2 separate regions of the Homo sapiens genome follow, and region 2 is linked to region 1. The links are contacts of gene promoters, found by promoter capture Hi-C in blood cells and fetal thymus (Javierre and others, 2016). All regions are on one chromosome and are shown on one strand. Each heading gives the region's core, a stretch centred on a gene start or on the middle of the fragment in contact. The rest is flanking DNA. Distances are from core to core; before and after follow the strand shown. Region 1 holds the start of TPPP3 (tubulin polymerization promoting protein family member 3). Region 2 overlaps SLC9A5 (solute carrier family 9 member A5).

Evidence for each region. The method cuts DNA at HindIII sites, captures the fragments that hold promoters and counts their contacts. A CHiCAGO score of 5 or more calls a contact.
Region 2: a fragment that was not itself captured here is called in contact with the fragment with the promoter of TPPP3 in region 1 in 5 of 17 cell types (M2 macrophages, endothelial precursors, megakaryocytes and 2 more); the score reaches 7.0 in M2 macrophages.

Annotation. Positions count from the first base shown.
Region 1 is chr16:67,391,583-67,394,872 of GRCh38, reverse strand. It overlaps TPPP3 (tubulin polymerization promoting protein family member 3), which reads left to right and starts at 1,375. Exons shown (of 4, transcript NM_015964.4): 1 at 1,375-1,493. It overlaps ZDHHC1 (zDHHC palmitoyltransferase 1), which reads left to right. Exons shown (of 12, transcript NM_001323627.2): 12 at 1-721. The coding sequence ends at 263. The HindIII fragment of the contact is 5,780 bases long and covers 1-3,290 here.
Region 2 is chr16:67,258,433-67,261,696 of GRCh38, reverse strand. It overlaps SLC9A5 (solute carrier family 9 member A5), which reads right to left. Exons shown (of 16, transcript NM_004594.3): 10 at 3,250-3,264; 11 at 2,036-2,124; 12 at 1,751-1,877. Among named protein-coding and RNA genes, the nearest start is that of SLC9A5, 11 kb to the right of the region's middle. The HindIII fragment of the contact is 2,094 bases long and covers 908-3,001 here.

The DNA.
Region 1 (3,290 bases), core at 126-2,625:
GCTCCAGCTCGTCGACGGATTCCGCGGACGCCAGCCCTGTGCACGCCGCTGGCCCTGCCGGCGCCTACCACTCGGCGTCGGCAGAGTCCGTGGACGAGATTCCAGTGGCGCAGACGCGCCTGGGCAGCGCCGCTCTGGCCGCCCCGCGGGGCCGGGGCCGACAGCCCACGCTGGCGCGGCAGGCGCGTGCGCCCGCCGTTTTCGTGAGCCCGAGCAGCGGCGAGCCCAGGGCGCCGGGCGGCCGGGAGGCTGGTCTGGCTTAGCTGGGCCGAGAGGCCGGAGGGCCGAGTTAGAGCGGCCGGCCTGACTCTCTATGCAACACCCCATCCTTGCCGCACCGAGTGCACTTTAGGGGCCCCTACGGCCGGCGGGATCGGCCTCCCTCCCCCACGACTCAGCAATACCCGCCCCACCGGCTGTGATGCTCCAATAAACTTTTTTATGCTTTTGCGGACGTCGCGCTTACTTTCTTAATGGCAGGGGCCACGGGCCATCCAGAAGCCCGACCCTGGCCAGTGGACCGGGGGCGGGGAGGAGGTCCCTGTATAGTAGGTAGCCACCCAGGCTGCCCTGTGGAGGTGCTCACGTGCGGCTCGTGGTTAGGAAAGGCCTTAGAAGGCGGCCTGGAGGAGGTTATTTTTCTTAAAGATGGGCTTTGCACTGGGAGGCCGAGAGAAAGCAGGCTTTGGGCTCCGAAAGCAGCAGTGGGCGCTGAGGCTGCGAGGCCGTGGGGAGGTGGCGGCGAAAGGAGGGGGCCGAGCCAGGAGGTCCCGCAGCTTTTCCCCGGCAGCAGGGCTGCCGTCGAATGCCAGCATCCTGGGGCTGGGCGAGCGCGATTCGCTCGTAGGGAGTCCCCTCCCTTCTTCCCCACTGCTCCAGGCTCTGAATCCTACCCAAGAGAGCACGGGAGTTGTGGCCTGGGGGTGCCATCCGTTCAGTGGATGGCAGTGCTCTTGAGTCAACCGTATACCCCTGTCACTGAGGGAGAGCTCCTTCCCGATTCCCCAAGCCCCACCAATGCCCCGCGCAGCTCCCCAGTGGCCTCTGGTTGACTCTCTGGGGAGCTGGATCTCTTCTGGAGATTGGGGCCGCTTAGAGCTTTAGGCACATCCCAGGATGGGAGGCTGTTTCCTCAGGGGGCCGTCCGAAGACGCCCCGAACTGCAGAGCGCTGGTCTCGCCGTCGCGAGGACCGCGGAGTTGCGGGGGAGGGGCGGGATGCGGCTCCCGGAGAGTCTCGGGGAGGGCGGGGCCTCGTGGGCGGGGCCGGCGTGACCTTGGTCACTCTCCCGCCGAGACAGCCTCGGGGGTGGGACTCGCCGTCTCTATGGAGACCGAGAAACAGGGGATAATACGGCGGAGCCGCCTGGGCTGCAGTCCCACCCGGGAGCCGGCAGGGAGCGGAGCTGCGGAGCCGCCTGGTCTCCCGCGTCCATCGGTCCATTCCTGCGTCGTTCTGTCCTTCCGAACGCACACTTCAGGAGCAGCCGCGAGGTAGAAGCCCATAGGAGACCCAGATGCCCGCCACCCCAATCAGTATCCTGCACGATGAGGGTTGGGGGGAGCAGCCTGGAAAGGGTCCCAACCTCCGGCGGTCCCAGCCGAGGAGCCAGCTGAGCGGCCCTGCCCTGGCCCCAAGCATTCCACCTCGCAGCCCCCACCTCCTGGTCCGGCTGATTGATGACTCCAGCTGTCCCAGTGGGAGCGGGACGGGTGGCTCCAGTTCACGGGTGTGGCCACTCCATCCATGGCCTGCAGACCCATGGGGCTGCGGCCTGCAACCCAGCGCCACCTGACCGCGCTGAGATGACCAAGAATCCATCTTTCCACGGACAGGAGTGAGCACTGCACGCAGGATCCGCCCAGTGCTTGGGCCAAGCACCCTGTGGCATCCAAGCTCCCCTGGACGTTACCCTTGGTGAACCAAGTGCGGGTCTTGGGGTCCCTGGTGGGAGGTTGCACCCAGGGAAAGGGAAGGGGAGTGCAGCGTGGACTGGGGTTATGGTCCCTGTAACGTAGGAACCACCGGTGCTCACAGTCCCAGAAACTGCCACTTAGGGATGGGAGTGTGGTCACTGGCGAGGAGTTTTTGGTGGAAGATGGGGCAGCCGGGCAGAGCCCAGGCCGTGGTCACTGGAAGCCCTAGTGTAAAAGGCAGAGCTAGAAGATGGTTGCTGAGACCGAGGGTGTGGTCAGGAGGTGGCAGTGGAGGAGGGGGATGTGGTGGGGAGGTCTCTACGCAGGGGATCTCCGCATAGTACCTGGGAGTCTTATAATGTTAGTGTGTGGATGTGGACTGGGGCCTTCAGTGCAGGCTGAGGGTGTGGCCAGAGGGCTGAGGGTGTGTGGACAAAGGGGTGCTGAGGGTCAGGGCGCCTTGATAAAGGGCTGCGGGTATTGGAGGGGGTGAGTGGCTGAGGCTATGGTCAGGGGTCTCAGGAAGGGATGCAGGTTTGTGGCCAGGGGCCTCAGCCCCAGGGCTGCGGGTGTGGGGATGGAGAAGGCTGCTGTGTAGGCTCAGGGTGTGGCCAGGGGTCTGCAGCGGAGGGCTGTGGGTGTGGGGGGCACTTTAGTGCTGGACTGTGGGTATTACTGGGGTTGGCGCAGGCTTGTTAGTATATATGTGGGGGCTGGTGGCCGAGGGCTGTGGCTGTGGGTGTGAAGATGGAGGATGGAGGGCTGAAGGTATGGCCAGGGGTACAAGGCCCAGGGGGTGGCAGGCCAGGGCTGAGTGCACAGGGTCGCTGGGAATGTGGGCTGGTGTGGCCAAGTTCAGGGCGTGGCCAGGGGAGGTCTGAGGTGTAGACATGATGAAGTGTGTTTCAGCCACAGCCCCACTTGCCAGCACGACTCTTGGGGTTCGTAACTCTACAGCCCCCACGCTACTAGCCCCCAACCTCCTGCTCCCCCAAAACTCCACAGTGGGAGGTTACAGCACCAGTCGGTGGCAAGGGGCCAGGAAGCCACGGTTATGCCCTAGGCGCAGGGAGTGCTGGCGTGCCCCACCCGTGGGCCCCAGCTTCCCAGCCCAGCCCAGCCCCTCAGCACTGGGAGCTTCTCCCTGAGCTGCCCTGACACCATCCTGCCCTTAGCAACATTCTCCAAGCAGCACCACCCTCCCTTAGCAACCGTCTCCAGGCTTCACAAACTGTGGCCAGGCCAGCCCCAAGCTCCCCTCATGTTTTTGTTTAACAGCAAATAGTAACAAGGCCTTGCTGGACCAGCTGCACCCCTGCCCAGGGCATGCACCCGTGCCCAGACTGGCTCTTGCTGGGTCCTCATGACCCTTAC
Region 2 (3,264 bases), core at 705-3,204, 130 kb after region 1:
GAGAGGGGAAAAAGAACTATTATAGATTTTTTTAAATGAAGAGACATATTTCCCAAATGCTAAGTGTGGACTTATTTAGACCCTGATTTGAACATCCAGCGGGGAAAAGATATTTATTGAATACTGACTGGATGTAAGAGTTCTTGCCACCTAGAGAGACATACTGAAATATTTTGAGATGATGTGATACGATGTCTGGAGTTTGTTTTAAGATAAAGTGTGGGAGGGATGTGGTAGGGCTGCAGAATGTAATAGAATTGATCATGCACTGATTTTTCAGTGCTGGTTGATAGATAAATATGAGTTATTTTATTCGTTCTACTGGAATTTTGAATAAGAAAGGTTTTTTAAAAACCCCATAGGATGCAGTGAGACAGGGTCTGCCAGCCATTAACTGAGGAAGACCTGGGAGTTTAGCAGATTCTAAGGACAATGTGGGGCCCCAGGGTGGTGAGCCAAGGCTGGAGGGATCTTGGGCTGTGGGAAGAGAAATAGCAAGTTCTAGAACTAGAATGGTGTCAGAGCTTCTAGGCCCTTCCCTGGCCAGCCACAGCTAGAGTAGCAACTTCCATTCTGGGCGCTGTTTTTTTAAGTCCAGAGAAGACATACCAGGAGGTAAGAGATTCTGGCCTGAGGGCAAGAGAGCCTGTGTGAAAGGGAACTGTCTTGAAATTTTGGAAGATGTATTCTGCAGAGCTGCGAAGAGTCAAATCAGGACCAGTGGGTGCAAGTTAAAGGAGGCCAATTCTGTTTCAACAGTAGAAAGAGCTTTGACTGTTGAAACTGCCAGAACTGGTGACAGCTGGCTTCCCATTTTAGAAAGGTGCAAGGTAATGGCTTGCTGCCCTCTTGTGGGGTTGCAACAGACTCTCTCCTGGATGAGCTGGGCCTTTCCAGACGCAAAGCTTCATGATCTGCATTGGACTAACTTCCATTATTTAAAACAGATGCCCACCTTCCACAGGCTAAGCTGGTCTAGGAGGCTTCCTCAGTGCTCTTGCTTCTGTCTGTGACTCCATCATTCTCCAGTGACCCTCAAGGCCCCCAGTACTCTGTCTCCTCCTCCTCTCACCATCAGAGCCAATCACCTAGGCCTACGTGCCCCTCTTCTTTCCCACCGCTCAGCCCTAATCCACAATATTTCACTCCATCTTCCCAACTGGCTGTCCCAGCTTCTCAACTCACCCCCTCCAATTTGATCTGCACTCTGCTACCAGAGAAGGTATCCTTAAACAGTGCTTGTATTAGGTCAACCCTTTCTCCAAAAAATAAAAACAAAGCAGAGGTTTCTTATTACTGATGAGATAAAACCCACACTCTTTTTTTTTTTTTTTTTTTTTTTGAGATGGAGTCTTGCTCTGTTACCCAGGCTGGAGTGCAGTGGTGAGACCTCAGCTCATTGCAACCTCTGCCTCCCGGGTTCAAGCGATTTTCCTGCTTCAGCCTCCCGAGTAGCTGGGATTACAGGCATGTGCCACCGCACCCAGCTAATTTTTGTATTTTTAGTAGAGATGGGGTTTCATTTTTACCATGTTGGCCAGGCTGGTCTCAAACTCCTGACCTCAAGTGATCCGCCTGTCTTGGCCTCCCAAAGTGCTGAGATTACAGGCATGAGCCATCGCACCCGGCTGAAACCCACACTCTTTAGCTGGGCATCTGCAGCTCTCCAACAAGCTGGCGCCAACTGCCTCTTAAGCTCTCCTCAGACCACCTCCACCCCCTCAAAATCCTGATGCCTGCCTGCTCTCACCCTACGGCGCGGCTTGTAGAGGCCTCCGCAGAGCAGATGATGCATCACAGCATCCTCACGATCCCGGCCGCTGCGTACTGTGTCAATCACCTGCAGATCCAGACACGCTCCACTGCCACTCTCCCTCCTGCAGGAGGCAGGGGACACATGTGCTGGAGAGGGGGCAGGAGGCAGTCCAGGAGAAGGGCAGATGAAAAGGTGCTGACAAATCTCCCCCAGAAGGGACTCAGAGAGAGGGCACAATGGAGAGGAGTATGAGGAAGGGGAAGGGGCTCAAGGACTCACAGCAGGTTGGTGACAGAAGTTTCTGCCACAGAATTGCGGCTGGGCATAGAAGGCAGAGTGAGACCTGTGGAAGACAAGACGTGGCCTCCCTGCAGGTGTCAAGACCAAGGTCAGCCAGCAATCAGATGGAGGGTTGCCCAGGAGTCAGGGGTAATAAAGAAAATAATAATAACGAACACTTAGTTTACTCTTTTGACATGCCAGGTACTCTGCTAGGCACTTTACATATCGAATTCACAAAATCTATAACATAGGTACTTGTATGCCTGCTTTCTATTTTTTTTTTTTTTTTTTTTTTTTGAGACAGAGTCACTCTATCACCCAAGCTGGAGTGCAGTGACACGATCTCGGCTCATTGCAACCTCTGGTTCCCGGATTTTTTTTTTTTTTTTTTTGAGACACAGTCTTGCTCTGTCACATAGGCTGGAGTGCAATGGTACAATCTCAGCTCACTGCAACCTCACTGCAAACTCCACCAGGGTTCAAGCGATTCTCCTGCCGCAGCCTCCCAAGTAGCTGGGTCTACAGGTGCCCACCACCACGCCTGGCTAGTTTTTGTATTTTTAGTAGAGACGGGGTTTCACTATGTTGGCCAGGCCGGTTTCGAACTCCTGACCTCATGATCCACCCGCCTTGGCCCCCCAAAGTGCTGGGATTACAGGTGTGAGCCACCGTGCCCAGCCCGCTTCCCAGATTTTAGCGATTCTCCTGCCTCAGCCTCCAGAGTAGTTGGGATTACAGGCATGCACCACCATGCCTGGCTAGTTTTTGTATTTTTAGTAGAGACAGGGTTTCACCATGTTGGCCAGGCTGGTCTCAAACTCCTCACCTCAAGTGATCTACCCACCTCAGGCTCCCACAGTGCTGGGATTACAGGCGTGAGCCACCGTGCCCAGCCTCTTATGCCTGCTTTCTTACAGCTAAGGAAACAGGCTCAGAGAGTGTGCTTACCCAAGGTCACAAGCTTGGAAGTGATAATGGTTGAGCTGACCCCAGAGTCCAGCTGTTTCCCACCTCTCTGGACTGCCTGCCAGACTCTGAATGTCAGCACCAGACCCAGCTGCTTCCTGCCGCTGCCACTTCACCAGACCATGGAGCCAGCTAGGAATTCCCAACTCCCTGCTCAGGGCCAGCCTGCTTGCCACCCCTTTCTGTCCTGCTCTGCTGACCATCTGCCCACCCACCACTGGCCCACCTGGAAGCTGCTGGCCCACCTGGTCCACAAAGCT